7 separate regions of the Homo sapiens genome follow, and regions 2, 3, 4, 5, 6 and 7 are each linked to region 1. The links are contacts of gene promoters, found by promoter capture Hi-C in blood cells and fetal thymus (Javierre and others, 2016). All regions are on one chromosome and are shown on one strand. Each heading gives the region's core, a stretch centred on a gene start or on the middle of the fragment in contact. The rest is flanking DNA. Distances are from core to core; before and after follow the strand shown.

Region 1 (2,541 bases), core at 28-2,527:
CAGTTCTAGGTAAAGTTTTTCTTTATTATTTATTGTATATCTCCTCCAAAGAGAATGTTAGTTCCACGTGAGGAGTAACCTTGTCTGCCTTATTTACTACTGATGATCACACATTTTGAACAGTGTCAAGCACATGGTAGGTCTGCAATAAATACTATTGTTAAATAAATGAAATAACTAGTACAAAATAAGAGCTGTAGGAATGAAGTGGAAGATAATTAGAAGAGGCATAATGCAAGAAGTGGCCATCTAAGTCCTCCATAGTTCAAGAGATAGAAATGAGGCAGAGACCTCACAAGTAATGTACAAACAAAACATGCAATGTGTGCAAGAAAAACAAGCAGTCCAGATACAGAGCAGTGGGGATGGGAATGCAGGGAGACTACAGTGCTGGAAAATGTAGCTGAGTTAGTACCAGATTATGGAAGATGTTGAATGCCCTGACAAGGACTTAGAATCTATTGGGTGGTCAATGGATGGCTACTGTTAGTGTTTGAGTAGAAAAGTGACACAATTCCAAAACATGCTTTTGGAATTGTAAGATGATTCTGATGGAAATGAGCAAGATGTATCCGATGGAGTAACAGTTAGAGGAGTTCAAAAACAAAACAGCATGGTCAAGAACATAGCTGTAGGGATTGGCCCTGAAAGAATAATGATCTTTTCTTTCTCCCAGAAAAAAGGAGGAAGACAGACATTCTAAGCAAGTGAAACAGGTAGGGAAACTTGGGGAGAATGTAATTCCAGCATCCTGGTAGAAGAGTGGAACTGACCTGGAGGACAGCAAAGGAGCCCACGTGGCGTTAAGCCTGAAGGTGCAGTATTCCCATTCAACAGAGACTGCTGCTGACAGTGGGCGGGGGAGTAGTTTGCTTGGCCCGTGGTTGAGGAATTCGTTGGCGGAGGAGGGATCCTGAGAAGGTACTAGAAATACTGAACCCAGTCCTGCAGAAGCTACTTAACTTCACAGAAAACTAGGGCGTCGTTGCCCTCCAGCACGTCCAAAGGTGTCCCCGACAAGGCCAGCAGCTCTACCTGTTTCTTCTCCCTCCTCTTACTCTGCCTGTCCAAAGGCACGACACTAGTCCACGTCACCTTTCTTTGGGCGCAAAGGGTATGGATCCTCAATGCCAACCTCGTCACCCCCCCCCCCCACACACACACACACACACACACATACAAGCCCACCATCGCGCAAGAAACTCGACCCCGTCTACCTCGGTTCAGTGGAAGGCATTCATTTGCACAACGCTGTGCGCATGCCCGGAAGCCTTAAGTGTTTCAGCCTCCGACAGGGGCGTAATTAAAGGGGCAGGCGCCCACGTAAAGACGCGCCCTACGCAATACGTGGAGTTTCTCACTTTGTGGAGCCGCCTGGAGGCGCCAAGATGAAGCCCATCGGGGAAGTGGGGCGGGGCCAACCCGGCAGGCCCCGCCCCTTCGCGGCGCTTCCTAGTTCGGCTGGTTCTTCTGTCGCCGGCTTCAGCAGCCCGCGCCCGGGCAGGTAAGGCATTCCCCGCCTTAATGCCTCGGTCAAACGTCGTCCGAGGTCCGCTTCCAGGCCTCGGCACCTCTGCCCCAGGGTTGCTGGGGTCGGCTGCGGAACGGAAATCTCTTTATCATCCGTGAGAAAAGTTAGAGAGGAAGTGGGTTCCTTTGACAGAGCTTACTCCAGAAGAAAGACTTGGGTAGGTCCCCGGTAATCAAGAAGTTCGTCGGCCCTGAGGAAGAGCCTGAGGCTTGGAGGGACGTCACCCAGCTGTTCTGGGGCGCAGTCGGACCTCAAGTTTCTCACCTCTCAGGCCCTGGATTCCGTGAACCCGACTGCGAAATGAAGTCTCTTTTCCCCAGAACCAGGAAGTCAGGCCAGCACCTGACAGATGCCTGTGGCGCCAGCAGCTCGCTGAGCCTCCACACGATTGTAATTCGCTTGTTTCTCCGGCCTCCAAGCTTCCAGGGAATTAGAAAGTGGAGGCGGCTTATGGGATCAGATGAGTACATTCGCAGATGGGGGAAAAAAGTGTACCTGTCAGCTTGGAAGCCAGAGGGAGACAAAGGGATAAAAGCAAACCCTGTCCAGGTGCGGTGGCTCATGCTTGTAATCCCAGCACTTTGGGAGGCCCAGGCGGGCGGATCGCTTGAGGTCAGGAGTTCGAGACCAGCCTGGCCAACATGGTGAAACCCCTGTCTCTACTAAGATACAAAATTTAGCTGGCATAGTGGCGGGCGCCCGTAATGCCAGCTACTCCGGGGGCTGAGGCAGGAGAATCGCTTGAACCCAGGAGGCAGAGGTTGCAGTGAGCCGAGATCGTGCCACTACACTCCAGCCTGGGCAACAGAGGGAGACTCCGTCTCAAAAGAAAAAAAAAAAAAAAAAAGCAAACCCTGAGAAAGCGAGAAAGCACTTTGAGCATTTAGAATGGGAACAAACGGCGCTATTAGTGCTTCAAAAACGTAACTGCCCAAGGCCCCTGGTAAGCAGAGGATACTAAAATCTGCCTTTTCCCTTTCTTGGAGTGGTCCTTGAAGAGGGCTATCGGG
Region 2 (2,541 bases), core at 13-2,512, 2.0 Mb after region 1:
AATTAGTGAATAATTATATTTGAAGCCTACTTTAAATTAATATGGGCTGACCATGGTGACTCACGCCTGTAATCCCAGCACTTTAGAAGGCCAAGATGGGCCAATGGCTTGGGCATGCAGATTGCTTGAGCTCAGGAGTTTAAGACCAGCCTGGGCAGCATAGCAAGACCCCTGTCTCTATAAAAAAATACAAAAATTAGCCAGGTGTGGTATGGTGCGTGCACCTGTAGTCCTAGCTATTCAGGAGGTGGAGGTGCGAGTGTTGCTTGAGCCTAGGGTGCAGAGGTTGCGAGCCGAGACTGCGCTACTGCACCCCAGCCTGGGCAACAGAGTGAGACTCCGCCTCAAAAATAAATAAATAAATACATCAACTAATGTAATCCCCCATCCATCCATTTTCAATACATGGCAAACCAAAAAAACAGTTACATGCATTTAATCTAAAATTTTCTGTAAGAATATATTGTATGTAGTTCTTTAGAAATAGATTTTTGCTTATTTGCCATAATTTTTTTAATTTGATGAACTGAAGTGGTATTCCTTAACTACAATTTCAAAATGTTTTTCCCTACAGGCCAACAACCCACAAAATAAAATGCTGCACCTGAAGCAATCCTCCAAACTTACTATCTGTCATTAGCAAATAGAGCTTTAACCTTTTGGGCATCACAGGGTCTTTAAGATGCCCGTGCCTGCTGAGAACTTCTCCCTAGAAAAATGCAGTAAACACATTCCGTTTCATAGGGCTCCTGGACTTGTTGAACACTATACATAGGCCACAAGTAGAATATATTGTCCAGCTGGGAATATACTATTATTTCAAAAGTCTCTTAGGAATTGGCAGCAAGAAGTGTATGTGCAATGGGTACAAATCCACCCAGGGTTTTGTAGTTGTGATATTACTACTATTTTTGGTGGCCTCAACTTTAATGGAGCAGAAAAACAACTGAGGTTAGCAAATAGCAGCGTAAAGGATGGATTCAGCTCACTGGGAAGAAAAAAAATTCCTGCATACCCTAAAGAAACAGAAGCTTCTTTTCAGTTTCCAGAGAACCAGAAGGACCATCATTTATTTAACTTCTGATTAACTTTGAGTATGATAAGTAGGAAATATCTTTAAATGGGGTTAAAATTAATAGACATTAGAAACAGAAACTACACTCTTATTTAAGCTATCAGTAATCATTAATGGCTAAATGTTATGAGTATTGTTAATAAGAGGGAAATTCAGTTATAAAAATATAGCACAATACTCTAAAAATTTCATCTTTGTTTAAAATACTTGGAGGCAGTGTAGTTAAATGCAAAATATTATGTCAGTTATTTTGTACACCTGAAGGACTGTTTATAAATGTTTCTCATACATTATCATGCAAAGATTATTCTAGAATACTTGAGTTCTACATACTACAAATCATGTTAAAGAATCATAGCACCTTTAAAAAATTGTTTACACTGAACTGTTGGATAGAATTTCCCTTAATGTATAGCAATAAGCTTCAACAATTTACAGTGGCTCAGGTTGAATATCTATTTCGATGCTATATATGAAGAGTTTGATATGTTTTCAGAGAAAAGCAAAAGCTAAATAACTTATTATTAAGTCAACACTACTGACTCATGTAGTTATTAAGGAAACTATATATACTTTAATGAAACCTAATTATTACACAATTTTACATTTCAGCTTAATTCCTATTTTATTGTTTTGCCAACAAGACTGCCAACTCCTTAAGCATTACAGCTAGTCAAGAATTAAATCTGCATTAAATACAGAATTAATTTGTCTTTGGGGTTTAATTTTTTTTAATTAATAGCAAAGTGCCATGTCAAGAAGAGTCAATGTACCAAAAAATTAAAACAGAAAATCAAAATTCATTAAAACAATTTGTTTGCTCAGTAGTATATTTTTTTTACATTCACTGAACATTCCCTTGCCTTTCCCATAATTAAAAAGTTAATTATTGGAATCATATTTTTTGTAGATCCCAGTTTTCAAACAATGTGATTTAAATGCTTGTTATTAACATTACAACACTTTGAGTAACACTGATCCTAACACTAAAGTGATGCTGTTTTGTACATAATTAAATTTGTTACCATTCTAAACAGAATTTTAAATTTAACTCTGTGGTAAAGACCCTGCTTAAGTATTAAAAGTTAGGAACCCTCCAGTCTGAATATTTTTATAACTTTTTTTGTTTTAAGAGACAGAGCCTCGAACTCCTCGGCTCAAGGGGTCCTCCTGCCTCAGCCTCCTGAGTAGCTGGGACTACAGGTGTGTACCACTGTGCCCAGCTTCATTATAACCTTTTAAAGGTAGCAGTTAAGTTTCTTGAGGGTCAAGTCATTCTCCCTCCCCCCATCTCTTGTCCAAATATTCAAGAAATATTTACTCAGTGATTTAGTAATCTACATTTAGTAAACTTACATTTAGTAAGTTACAAATATATTTATTACTAAATATAGATTACCATTAATAAATAGTTCCTTGGTTTAGTATGTTCTCTTAAAGTTTTCAGAAGCTATTAAATACTATAA
Region 3 (2,541 bases), core at 29-2,528, 1.7 Mb before region 1:
ATTTTTAAGCTAATATGCTAATTAGCATCTCTAGAAATTAGACAGTAAACTGAGAAGAACAGATAGAAAAGAGAATTAAAACTCCTTATGTTAAAAACAGCAACAAATTGTTGAATTAAACATAGTAAGTTGAACTCACATATTTACCTTTGCTTCTTCACTAACCTCCACTAAAATGAAAGTGTGATGGTTAATTTTACATGTCAACTTGGCTGGGCTAAGGAATGCCCAGATAGCTGGCAAAACATTATTTCTGTGTGTGCCTGTGAGGATGTTTCTGAAAGAGGTTAGCATTTGAATCAGTAGAATGAGTAAGGAAAATTGCCTTCAGCAATCTGGGTGGCCATGATCAATCCATTAAGAGCCCAAATAGAAAAAAAAAAAATGTAGAGGAAAGGCAAATTCTCTCTCTTCTTGAGCTGGGATATCCATCTTCTCCTGCTTTTAGACAATGGAGGTCCCAATTCTCAGATCTTCAGCCTCGGATTGAATTGCACCACTGGCTTTCCAGGTTCTCCAGCTTGCAGAGGGCAGGTGGTTGCACTTCTCAGCCTCCATTATTGTGTGAGCTAATTCCCATAATAAATTTTCTCATGTATAATCCCTATTGGTTCTGTCTGTCTCTCTGGAGAACTCTGATAAACACAGATAGTAAAAGAGGAAAGGCATAAACCCACATGAACAAAGAAAACTGGAAGAGAGATAAATGCAGCAACAAAAATTTGAAAACTGGAAAGCAAATGAAGAAGTTATTATCCTCTTCTCTGCCTAAATGTAAGCAGGCAATGGGGAAATCCCAGAAATAAGCTATCTGAATTTTTAAAATCCTGGGGAAATATCAGGAACTGAAGCATAAGGTGCCACTGAAAGCAAGGGAACTGATAGACTTAATGCATGAGAACTAGCTGAAAGTTCATATAAGATGCTGCTAGACCACAGCCATCTATTTCACCCTTCCTCCCCCTTCATCCCACCCCCACCACTCCCACACCTGCCCTCCACCTTTTGCCACCATATAACGCCATTCCTCCACTATGGCAGAAGCCTGGAGTTTAACTGGTTAGAGAGTTCGACCAAAAAGACTGAATTTGGGTACACTGTGCTTCACAGAGAATGAGGGGTATTCTACCAAAAAAAGACGGGAGGTGGTTTAAGTGAAAGGCAACAACCCCTTTCCCCTACTTAGATTCCAAAACATGGCAGTCAGTTTCAAACCACATAAACAAGAGTTTCTTAGGAATCTGACCAGTACTCCCCACCCCCCAAAAAAGACCTATACATACTGAGAGTCAGGGGCTCCCAATAAAACAGTACAAATAGATTACTGTATTATAGAGTCTATTAGGTAATAAATCCCACCCATGCATAGAGTTTCCCATCAGCTTTTAGGTAGCTCGATATTAAATATGAGAAGATAGTCAAGAATCATCAGTCATTAGAAATATTCAATCTAACATGAAAGACAGAGGTCAAAACAAAGAATAAAAAGAAACTGTGACTGAGCTAATACAAAATCATTAATATCCATGGAAAGATAAGAGTGCATCCTTGAAACAAGAACAATATGCTATTAAAAAGGACATTCAGAGAACAAAAAAAAATTCTTGGAAATTAAAAATATGAAAACTAATTAAAAACTCAATAGAGGCTGAGTGCGGTGACTCACGCCTGTAATCCCAGCACTTTAGGAGGCTGAGGCAGGCAGATCACCTGAGGTCAGGAGTTCAACACCAGCTTGGCCAACATGGCGAAACCCCGTCTCTACTAAAAATACAAAAATTAGCCAGGCATGGTGGTGCACGCCTGTAGTCCCAGCTGCTCAGGAGGCCGAGGCAAGAGAATCTCTTAAACCTGGGAGGTGGGGGTTGCAGTGAGCCGAGATTGCACCACTGCACTCCAGCCTGGGCAACAGAGTGAAACTCCGTCCCAAAAAGAAAAAGAAAAGAAAAAAAAAAAGCACCTCAATAGAAGTTTGGAAGTAGGAGAGAAATTATAGGTTTATTAGAGAACTAGCCCAGGCTATGAAATGTCTGAAAAATACATGTTCCAGAAAGAGAGATAAAAAGTGAAAGGAAAGTATTCAAGACAATTTCCCAGAAATAAAGGTTCAAATGTCAAATGTCCAAATCAAAAGTTTTTTAAGTACCCAGCACAATGAAGGAGAAAAGGCTCATCCCCATGTTCATCATCATGAAATTTCAGAACTCCGAGAATTACCCAGTGGAATGAAGATCTCCAGGAGAAAAGACTTTAATGGTTTCCAGAAAGACAGGCCATAAACAAGAGTTCAAGAATCAGAGTTCCATCAGACATCTCAATAACAATATTACAATTTAGAAGACAATAGAACATATGCCTTCCACATTTAAAGGACAGTTGCTGTCCAAATTAGAGTTCTATACACAGCCAAATTATCCAACATGGGAACTCTAGAACAAACACATTTTTTAGGTGTGCAAGATGGGACACTGATTGTTGCCCTTCAATAGCTTTCTTCTTCTTTCTGTCCTCCTCCTCCTTCTTCTTTTTCTTCTTCTTCTC
Region 4 (2,541 bases), core at 27-2,526, 1.7 Mb before region 1:
TGAGTACACACCCTTGTCTGGGAGCAGGGGAGAGGAAGAGGAAGGACTGAAAACAAATCCTAAGCCATTTTTAGTAAGCTGGTTTGGGGGTGGAGACAATGGTATGAAAGGAACATTTCTGAAATTATTTTAAATGACTGTAAGATTAAGCAAATGACAAAATGTGTTGATGACAGAAGTCAGGATTCTAACTGTGGAAGAAAGAAGATATAATATAGAGTAGAAGAAAGGAAGAGCCTTGGAAGAATGGCATGGAATTAGAGAATCAGGTGTGAACACATTAACATCATGTGTGCACGCTTATACTTCCTAGCTCTGCCACTGAAAAAGCTCAAAAGCAATGAGACCCTGGTAGCAATAAACATGCCTAATATCCAGAGCCTACTAAAGGGAACCAGAGCTCCTTTGACAGATGACTAATTTCAACAGTAGGGCAGGGAAAGTATAAAATAAACCTGGAATATTTTGTTGGAACAGAAAATAAAAGAGGTACTCAAAAAAAGTGATGAGGACATGTCAAAGGGACACAAGAAGTAGCCAATGGGGCTCCCAATGGCCATACCTGGAACAACTTTAGCATTAACATAATTAGAAGGAAAAATGAATTATAAATCATTGGAGGAACATAAGTATCAAAGGGTTCATACTGATTATATAAACATCAATATATGTGCAAAAGGGAGCGATCTTCCTTATAGACGCATGCCAAGTGTCAAATGATGTATGTGGAAGGAGTGCTATTGTTGAACAATCATCAATTTGCAAATAACATGGTGAAGATTGTTTTGGGCAAGAACCAACGATAGATGCTAAATCTTGTAGGAAAATTTTAATGAGAAGCAGAATGTTTACATGATTTTAAAAGGTTCTTCCCATAGGCTGCTTATAAGAGGAAAAATAACTACACTGTGGAGAAAATAAATGACATTTTGACTGACTGATCAAAATCAACATCACCAGTGAGGGGCAGACAAAAGGGACTATGACTATGAGGGCCTGAGAAGCACACATCACCACCTATACAGAATTCTGAGCAGGCATGTATATCCTGAACCTAATCGTAAGGAAACATTAGACAGGCCAAAATGAAGAACATTCTAATAAAAAAAGGGGTGAAGAGGCTCTATTGTCCAAATATGCCAATGTCATATAAGACAAAGACTGAGAAACTGTTCTAGATCAAAAGAGAGTAAAGCCATATGGATGGCAGATTAATGTATTCCATCAGTATTAAATTTTCTAGCTTGACATATGTACTGTGGTTAATAAAAGAGCGTCCTTATTCTTAGTTTAAAAAAAAAAACTGAAGTTTTTAGGGGTAAAAGAACTTAATGTATGCAACTTACAATCAAATTTAAGTTGAGTTTTCTGAAAAAACAACTACATTGTTTTCAGGAAAAAAAAATGTAGAGAGAAAACCAACGACAAAGCAAATAAGGCAAAATGTTAATAACAGATGAGGCTGAGTGTGTGTAAAAATTCTTTGTACTATTTTTGTAAACTAACCATTAGCTTGAAAGTATTTTCAAACAAAAAGTTAAAAAAAAGGAAAGGCAAATCTTACATTTCTCAGTGCTTCATAAACAGCTCTAAATGCTGGTTGCTTATCGTCATGGTAAACACCTCTGTTCCCATGAAGAATAAAGATTCCTCCTTCTTCTGCTTCTTGGCAATTGCTTCCATATATACAATGATCTGGTCGATAATTCCATTGACACGGAAAAACAAAAAGGCTTTCTACATAAAGAAAAGACCAAACAATGAAGCAAATACCCCTAATTCCACAGATGTAACATTATGCAAAACTTTCAGTTAAAAAATACAGCTCTTACAAGTAAGAATTAATGAAAAATGTCTGGCATTTAGATCTCTTCCAATTAAAGCAAAATTCAAGAAAAGTTTTACTCCGTCTTAAACATAAATAGCAATAATCATTAATATAAGACAGAATCAGATAAGTGCATGTTTTCCTTTTTCACTAAGTATTATCTGTGATTTTTTTAATGCAAATAAAAGGAATTTAAATAATTACCTGGATTATGAAAAAACACGATATTCAATAGATCTTGATCACCCCATGTGATGTTTAGTTTGTATTTTTTAAGCAATGGCATAAGTATATCTCCCCATTGTAGTCGTACAGTTGTCATATCATTCTGTTGATAAAAACATTCAAAAGAGCTTCAGACTTTCAGGCTTAAAATGGCAGCATGATGACAGTTCCTCATTCTTCCCACAGCAACCATTACAAATCCACAAAGAGAAATGCAAACTCCTCACAATATCAAGTGACATTTCTAACCCTAAATGTGAGAAGGGCTGTACAGTAAAACAGAAGATAACAAAAGGAAGTTGTATGTGGCAGTGACAAAACTAGTAAGTCACGAAAGAAAGCGAAAGTAACTGTGTCCTTATCTTAAAATGAAGATAGTTTTGGTACCTACGTCTGGGCCTACGTCAGAGTTGTTGATGATTAAAATTGTTAATATATAAATTTAAAGTGCTTGGAATAGCACCTGACACGTGGTAAATATTCAGTGT
Region 5 (2,541 bases), core at 22-2,521, 1.6 Mb before region 1:
AGGAGCACTCCCCACTTACAAGGGCAGTGTTACAGAATAAATATTTTTGTGCAATTAAGAAATAAAACAACTGATATGGTTTGGCTCTGTGTTGCCACTCAAATCTCATCTCAAATTGTAATTCCCACGTGTCAAGGGAGGGACCTAGTGGGAGATGACTCGATCATGGGGGCCGTTTCCCCCTTACTGTTCTTGTGATAACCATCAGTTCTCATGAGGTCTCATGGTTTAAAAGTGTGGTCTTCTTTCTCTTTCTCTCTCTTCTGCTGCCATGTAAGACATGCCTTACTTCCCCCTTTGCCTTCTGCCATGATTCTAAGTTTCCTGAGGCCTCTCCAGCAATGCTGAACTGTGAGTCAATTAAACTTTTCTTTATAAATTACCAAGTCTCAGGTAGTTATTTCTAGCAATGTGAACAGACTATTACAACAACATTCTATTATAGTATATTATTAAATATTCAACTCTACAACCTTGACTATGTCTCAAATACTTACTCTGCCTTTAAAGCTATGATGTAGCTGATCTTCAGCAAAAATATGGAATTGAAGAGGTTTGATGCTGAAAATGATAGCTGACTTCAACATGGTCATAGTTTCTTCCAGTCTTTCACCACAGGCAACTACAGCTAGATGCATTTTCTCAACAGGCTGTATTTTCAGACTGTACCTAATAGGAAAGAAAACCACATTTTTCAACAGTTTTAGTATATGTTTACAATGTGTACTTTCATCATGCTCAAAAAGTGAAGCTCAAAGCCAGATGTTGTGACTCATGCCTGCAGTCCCAGCTACACGGGAAGCTAAGGCAGGAGGATCACTTGAAACCAAGAGTTCAATGCTGCAGTAAGCTATGACTGCATCACTATACTCCAGCCTGGGCAACAGAGCCAGACCCTGTGAAAGACAGAGAAGAAAGAAAGGACAGAAAGAGAAGAAAGAGAAAGGGAAAGGCAAAGGGAAAGGGAGGGAGGGAAGGAAAAAAAAAAGAAAGAAAGAAAAACTGAAGTTCAAAATTTTTATTTATAAAACAAACTAGGCCAAGTCTGTAATCCCAGAGCTTTGAGAGACCAAGGCAGCAGGGTCACTTCAGTCCAGGAGTTCAAGACCAGCCTAGGCAACATACCGAGATCCCATCCCTACAAAAAATACAAAAATTAGCCAGGAGTGGTGGCATGCACCTGTAGCCCCGGCTACTCAGGAGGCTGACATGGGAGGATATTTTGAGCCCAGAAGATAGAAGCTGCAGTGAGCTGTAATTGTGCCACTTTACTCCAGACAGAGCAAGATCCTGTCTCAAAAAAAAGAATGTATTTATTTAAAAAATAAGAAAAGGGCAAACATCAAATTACAAAACATTTTAAAAATGTTGAATCAATCACGTATTTCCACACTCTCAACCAGCTCTTCTCACCAATTTTCCTCCTTTCAAACTACAGAACACACAAAAAATGACAACTTTCTCAATTCTCCCAAGAATACATAACTAGCACCACTGTGGCTGCCAGTAAATAAATTAATTCATTACTCACATTAGATGCCTTAGGAAATCAGAGCTTAACTCTCTCAAGGAACCCATTGAGAAAGATAGATTTGAAGGTCTTTCATTCAATTTTTTAAAAACATTGTTATTAAAAAAAAACCCTTAAAAACATTCTTACTTCATATGAAACCTCTCCCCATACCACCTCTCACCAACCAACAGTTCACTGTAAAGCAAACCCAGTCATAATTTCATCCATAAATGTTTCAGTATTACATTCAATCTTAAACCATGCTGACTACAAGAAAAAATGTCCTTCACATTAATAACACACATTCATTCCCATTTACCAAATATCTAGGAAGATGTAAACACTTCTGAGATGGTCTAAAACATGCTAGTCAAACACTAGTATGTCTTTAGAATCTACTTCTAACACAGTGCAGCAGTGGATACCAACAGGCTTAAGTAACTTTTAATACCTCTTGCTTCTGCTGTGCCACTTCTTTCACGTCTGGTGTTAGCATTAGCTTCGGTCTTTTTACTTTTTTTTCCTTCTTTTTAGAGACAGGGTCTCACTCTATCACCCATGATGGAGTACAGTGGTGCATTCATAGCTCACTGCAGCCTCAACCTCCCAGGCTCAAGCCATCTTCCCATCTCAGCCTCCCAAGCAGCTGGGACCACAGATGTGCGACCACCATGTCCAACTAATCTTTTTTTTTATTTTTTGTAGAGATGGGGTCTCACTATGTTGCCCAGGCTAGTCTCGAACTCCTGGCCTCAAGGGATCCTCCCACCTCAGCCTCCCAAAGTGCTGGGATTACAGGCATGAGCCAGCGCACCTGGCCAGTTTGGGTCTTTTTAAAGCTCTCTATTATTTTCTGTTGGCTGTAATTAGAAAGAAGCAATGTCTCTTCCCTTGTTTGTACCCTCTGTCCTTTGCCCTCTTTTGTGCTGAGCCCATCAGTTCATAACACTGAAACTAATGATGGAGGGGAGACTTTCTACTCTTTCTACGTCTATAAAGAGGGGACATGAATCCAGTTCATCTCAAAA
Region 6 (2,541 bases), core at 29-2,528, 1.6 Mb before region 1:
AAGAAAAGAGAATCCAGAAACAAGTCCACACAGCTACAATGAATTCATTTTTGACAAAGGTGCCAACAATATACAATGGGAAAAGACAATCTCTTCAATAAATGGTGCTGGGAAAACTGGATATCCATATGCATAAGAATGAAACTAGACCCCTATCTCTCACCGTATACAGAAATCCAATCAAACTGGATTAAAGACTTAACTCTAAGACCTCAAACTATGAAATTACTAAAAGAAAACATTGGGGAAAATCTCCAGGACCTTGGTCTTGGCAAAAATTTCTTGAGTAACACCCCAAAAGCACAGGCAACCAAAGCAAAAATGGACAAATGGAATCATATCAAGTTGAAAAGCTTCTGCACAGCAAAGGAAACAACAACATGAGGAAACCCACAGAATTGGAGAAAATATTTGCAAACTACCCCTCTGACCAGGGATTCATAACCAGAATATATAAGGAGCTCAAGCAACACTCTGTAGGAAAAAAAAATCTAATAATCCAATCAAAATATGGGCCAAATGTTTGAATAGACATTTCTCAAAAGAAGATGTACAAATGGCAAACAGGCATATGAAAAGGTGCTCAAGATCACTGATCATCAGAGAAATGCAAATCAAAACTACAATGAGATATCATCTCACCCCAGTTAAAATGACTTTTATCCAAAAAACAGGCAATAACAAATGCTGGCAAGGATGTGGAGAAAAGGGAATCCTTGTACATTGTTGGTGGGAATGTAAATTAGTACAACCACTATGGAGAACAGGTTGGAGGTTCCTCAAAAAAAAAACTAAAAATTGAGCTACCATAGTATCCAGCAATCCCATTGCTGGGTATATACCCAAAAGAAAGGAAATCAGTATATTGAAGAGATATCTGCACTCTGGTGTTTATTACAGCACTGTTTACAATAGCTAAGATTTGGGAGCAAAGTAAATGTCCATCAACAGATGACTGGATAAAGAAAATGTGGTACATACAAACAATGGAGTACTACTCACCCATAAAAAACATGAGTTCCAGTCATTTGCAACAACATGGATGGAACTGGAGATGATTATGTTAAGTGAAATAAGCCGGGGTCAGAAAGACAAAAATCCCATGTTCTCACTTATTTGTGGGATCTAAAAATTAAAACAGTTAAACTCATGGAGACAGATAGTAGAAGGATGGTTACTAGAGGCTGGGAAGGGTAGATGGTGGGGGTGGTGAGGATAGTTAATGAGTACAAAAAAATAGAATGAATAAGACCTTCTATTTGATAACATAATTGTACATTTAAAAATAACTAAAAGAGTATAATTGGATTGTCAGTAACACAAAGGATAAATGCTTGAGGAGATGGATACTCCAATCTCCATGATGTGATTATTATGCATTACATGTCTGTATCAAAACATCTCATGTACCCTGTAAATATATACACCTATGTACCCACAGAAATTAAAAATTAAAAAACAAAATGTGTTCACCGTCATTTTCTTTGTCCTTTAGAAGTCTTCTCCCAAACTAGTTTTATAACCTTCCAACTCTTCCCATTCTTGCTGACTCCAAAAGTAAACACAGGACCATTTTATTGTTGGATTATGAATTAAAAGAGGATAATGAAAATAATATCCATTTAGTTTCTGAATTTTCTTGCTAAAAGATTTATTAGAAAAATGATGATGAGGTGGTAGCTTTCATCCAAACTCCCTTCTTCCAGGTAGGTCAGCCGATTTAAATCTAGATGTAATCTAAAGACCTACTAAAACTGTATGTATTATTTCCACTCCTCAGGAATTCCAGATGGGGAGGTATGTATCTCACTGGATCCTTGCCCCAAATAGTTCCCCTAGGAGTTTATTCTTACAACTTGAAATAAGGAAGATTTTTTTTTTAAATACTATTTGGCCTGATTTACACTAGATATTTGTGGCCATTTATAAAAACAAAAGAAAAACAAGTAGATAAAAATCAAACTCTGGAAAAATACAAAAAAGATCAAGAATAAGAAATTAGATTAAAATAGAAAAAGAGCCACCACCAGCCTCCATGGCTCACACCTATAATCCCAATACTTTAGGAGGCCAACTCGAGAGGATGGCTTGAGCCCAGGAGTTCAAGACCAGCCTGGGCAATGTTGTGAAACCCAATATTTATAAAAAATACGAAAAGAAGAAGAAAAAATTATATTTCACAATTTATTATTTGTCATGATGTGAAGCTTGAATCTTTATATTAAATCTTTTCCTCTGATTAAAAAAAAGACTAAAAAGTTAGAATGCAGATAAGCAGACAACCAAGGCTACATAATTATTAAAACTGAACTCAATTTTTTTTTTTTTTTTTTTTTGAGATGGAGTCTCGCTCTGTCACCCAGGCTGGAGTGCAGGGGTGGGATCTCTGCTCACTGCCACCTCCATCTCCTGGTTTCAAGCAATTCTCCTGCCTCAGTCTCCCAAGTAGCTGGGATTACAGGTGCCTGCCACTATGACCAGCTAATTTTTTGTATTTTTAGTAGAGACGGGGTTTCACCGTATTGGCCAGGCTGGTCTCGA
Region 7 (2,541 bases), core at 25-2,524, 1.5 Mb before region 1:
GGCATCGTATATTTTTGCAAACCTCTAACATCTGGTTAGTAGAAGACACCTGGATTGTCACATCTATCTCAGCATTCAATTTGTTGCAATATGTTGTTTTGGTCCAAAAATATTAAGAAAATCTGGACTCTCACAGATATACAGTTGAAAAGAGGTAAGTAGTTGAATAGCATTTTCAGATAACTATAGGTGTTATTCTTTGATACTACATAAAAACACAGTTGTTTCTCAAAGGTTAGTTGCAATATGAAATCTGAAACCACATCAATGAAGTTTTCAGTGTTCCCTTAAAATCTGTTGGTATTTTGTACTTTGATGGATTACCCATTACAGTTTTGTAAAATCATACATCGGTAACTAGGAACCATTTGTTTGCTGAGTTATGCGTAGCTTCCAAATGCTGACACATTTCATGGTGAAATATCAGAAATTATATTCATTGATACCACCACTAATCTTCTCAGAAAAGTCTTTATACACAGAAACTCTAAAGCTCATTGTTGCTACAAATTTTCAAAAATTCTAATTTTCACTTGAATGATTATCACTGGCAACATATAGTATCAAGTGTTTTCCTTGAAGTGATATATTTTTTGAATATATTCATTTTCAAGAAAATATATGCTAAATATCCAAGTCTGAATAACTATGGTATTTCAGGTAGTCTTTCAAGTAAAAATGATGCTCTATGACAAAAAGACTAGCTCTGCTTGCAAGACAAACTACACATGTGCTTTCCCTTAACCACTGTACTTTGGTATACAGTAGAAGTGCTTTATGTGTAGTTCCCATTTGGTCAGACAGAATATTTTTAAAAATATGAGATGTAATAAAATTAGTAAATTTTTCTGCTTCAAGGATATTCTTAATTCAAACTGACATTATTCTTACTGCATGCATGTACATGGTGGTGAATATTACAATGAAGATAGCAATTTGGTGCCACTGCTTTGATTCATGCTAAGGTGCTGGCAGTTTTACCCATCACTGCCTCTGCACCATCACAGTGAAAAAGGCAAATAACATCTTCAAATTATTATAAAAACAGTGTGAACCTCATAGAAAGCTTCAACTAAAAAGATCTCAGGGACTCTCAGTGTCCCTCAGACTACACTTTGAAAACCACTCTGATATCCAGACTACACAAACACTAATAATCACTTGTAAAATTTACCCATATACAATTAACCAGTGTGAGTCCTCTTACAGGACAAAAAACAAACAAGTAAGAAATCTCCTAGAATAAGGAGTCTCTGAACAACTAAATGGTTGCTAGAAAGGCTCCTCAGATAGACAGGAGGCGGCTCAGGAACCATGCATTTCTTTAAAAAGGACTTATGTAGATGGTCCTCAATTTTTTTCTCCCATTCCTACACCAAAAGTCTAGAAGAATCAGTGCCAAACCTCAAATTTGAAGACATAAAGCAAGTATGACAAGAAAACAACGATGCTGAAAAGATTTCTACCAGATGATAGTTGGTTTAAGCTTCTTTCAGAATGTGGATTTTATAGCTTACTTTTAAAAGAAGCTGAAATAACTCACTCTTTTTACCTAACCATAATAATAATACTGTGTTCAGTTATAAACAACATATATTTTTAATGAAGAAGTTCCACCTCTTCAGCCTACACATAAAGGAAAGATCTACTAACACTAAACCTCACATATAGAGCTTGGTACAGTTAAAGCGGTTCTAATTTGCAAAACTGTAAAATTTTAAAGAAACAAAAAAATCCATTTTGCTCACCACTGTATGTCTAGTATCCAACTCAGCCCTTAAATAAGATGCTCAATAAACATTTGCTGAATGCTGAATATTGAAATGGTTGATATGAAATGAGATATGAACCCAGGTTACCAAAATCATACTAGTGTAACATCTAGCACTCTTTCTACTATGTGAAATCTTTTTTATAGCTCTCTAAAATAACACCTATGAGAAACCTAAAGGACTGTTATAATATCCTCTAACAAAATGTAACATTACCTGTTACATTTGAAAGCCTGGTATGAACCATTTAGACCACAGTTTGAAACCCAAACCAATAATTCTATCATTTTCATTTCTAAATATTTGCTATCTGAATTAAGCAATATTAAGTAACTGTCCACTACTAGATGAAGTACCAATAAGACACCAGTCTTAAATTAATCATCACACATTGATTATCACCCTCATACAGACTATCCTTAATATTTAATATTTCATTTTCTCTGATGACTCAGAATTTTGTTTTTTTGAGACAAGGTCTCACTCTGTTGCCCAGGCTGGAGTGCAGTGGTATGATCACAGCTCACTGCAACCTCGAACTCTGGGGCTCAAGGGATCCTCCCACTTCAGCCTCCTGAGTAGCTGGGACCACAGGCATGCACCACCACACCCAGCTAATTTTTTTAATTTTTAGTAGAGACGAGATCTCACTGTGTTGCCCAGGTTGGTCTCAAACTCCTGGCCTCAAGAAATCCTCCTGTCTCAGCCTCCCAAGGTGCTGGGCTTACAGGTGTGGGCCACTGGGCCAGCCAAGAATGATCCTTAATTT

What was found. Contacts are between HindIII fragments. The CHiCAGO score rates a contact against its expected background, and 5 or more counts as called.
Region 2: a fragment that was not itself captured here is called in contact with the fragment with the promoter of PUS7L in region 1 in 1 of 17 cell types (non-activated CD4 T cells); the score reaches 5.3 in non-activated CD4 T cells.
Region 3: a contact is called between a fragment that was not itself captured here and the fragment with the promoter of PUS7L in region 1, in 2 of 17 cell types (monocytes and naive B cells). The highest score is 6.7, in monocytes.
Region 4: a fragment that was not itself captured here is called in contact with the fragment with the promoter of PUS7L in region 1 in 11 of 17 cell types (total B cells, monocytes, non-activated CD4 T cells and 8 more); the score reaches 11.0 in total B cells.
Region 5: a contact is called between a fragment that was not itself captured here and the fragment with the promoter of PUS7L in region 1, in 5 of 17 cell types (naive B cells, total B cells, monocytes and 2 more). The highest score is 12.1, in naive B cells.
Region 6: a fragment that was not itself captured here is called in contact with the fragment with the promoter of PUS7L in region 1 in 2 of 17 cell types (monocytes and total B cells); the score reaches 8.7 in monocytes.
Region 7: a fragment that was not itself captured here is called in contact with the fragment with the promoter of PUS7L in region 1 in 4 of 17 cell types (fetal thymus, naive B cells, total B cells and 1 more); the score reaches 10.5 in fetal thymus.

Annotation. Positions count from the first base shown.
Region 1 is chr12:43,757,513-43,760,053 of GRCh38, forward strand. It overlaps PUS7L (pseudouridine synthase 7 like), which reads right to left and starts at 1,278. Exons shown (of 9, transcript NM_031292.5): 1 at 1,218-1,278. It overlaps IRAK4 (interleukin 1 receptor associated kinase 4), which reads left to right and starts at 1,439. Exons shown (of 12, transcript NM_016123.4): 1 at 1,439-1,504. RefSeq lists enhancers at 966-1,015, 1,356-1,465, 2,086-2,145. The HindIII fragment of the contact is 3,611 bases long and covers 1-1,948 here.
Region 2 is chr12:45,721,981-45,724,521 of GRCh38, forward strand. No RefSeq gene overlaps it. Among named protein-coding and RNA genes, the nearest start is that of LINC00938, 4.7 kb to the right of the region's middle. The HindIII fragment of the contact is 466 bases long and covers 1,030-1,495 here.
Region 3 is chr12:42,059,494-42,062,034 of GRCh38, forward strand. No RefSeq gene overlaps it. Among named protein-coding and RNA genes, the nearest start is that of GXYLT1, 84 kb to the right of the region's middle. The HindIII fragment of the contact is 2,764 bases long and covers 1-2,541 here.
Region 4 is chr12:42,095,878-42,098,418 of GRCh38, forward strand. It overlaps GXYLT1 (glucoside xylosyltransferase 1), which reads right to left. Exons shown (of 8, transcript NM_173601.2): 6 at 2,033-2,156; 7 at 1,565-1,737. Among named protein-coding and RNA genes, the nearest start is that of GXYLT1, 48 kb to the right of the region's middle. The HindIII fragment of the contact is 4,036 bases long and covers 1-2,541 here.
Region 5 is chr12:42,118,503-42,121,043 of GRCh38, forward strand. It overlaps GXYLT1 (glucoside xylosyltransferase 1), which reads right to left. Exons shown (of 8, transcript NM_173601.2): 3 at 498-669. Among named protein-coding and RNA genes, the nearest start is that of GXYLT1, 25 kb to the right of the region's middle. The HindIII fragment of the contact is 4,362 bases long and covers 1-2,541 here.
Region 6 is chr12:42,152,111-42,154,651 of GRCh38, forward strand. No RefSeq gene overlaps it. Among named protein-coding and RNA genes, the nearest start is that of GXYLT1, 8.5 kb to the left of the region's middle. The HindIII fragment of the contact is 1,854 bases long and covers 352-2,205 here.
Region 7 is chr12:42,231,289-42,233,829 of GRCh38, forward strand. The region is part of intron 2 of YAF2 (YY1 associated factor 2); the gene reads right to left. Among named protein-coding and RNA genes, the nearest start is that of YAF2, 5.7 kb to the right of the region's middle. The HindIII fragment of the contact is 420 bases long and covers 1,065-1,484 here.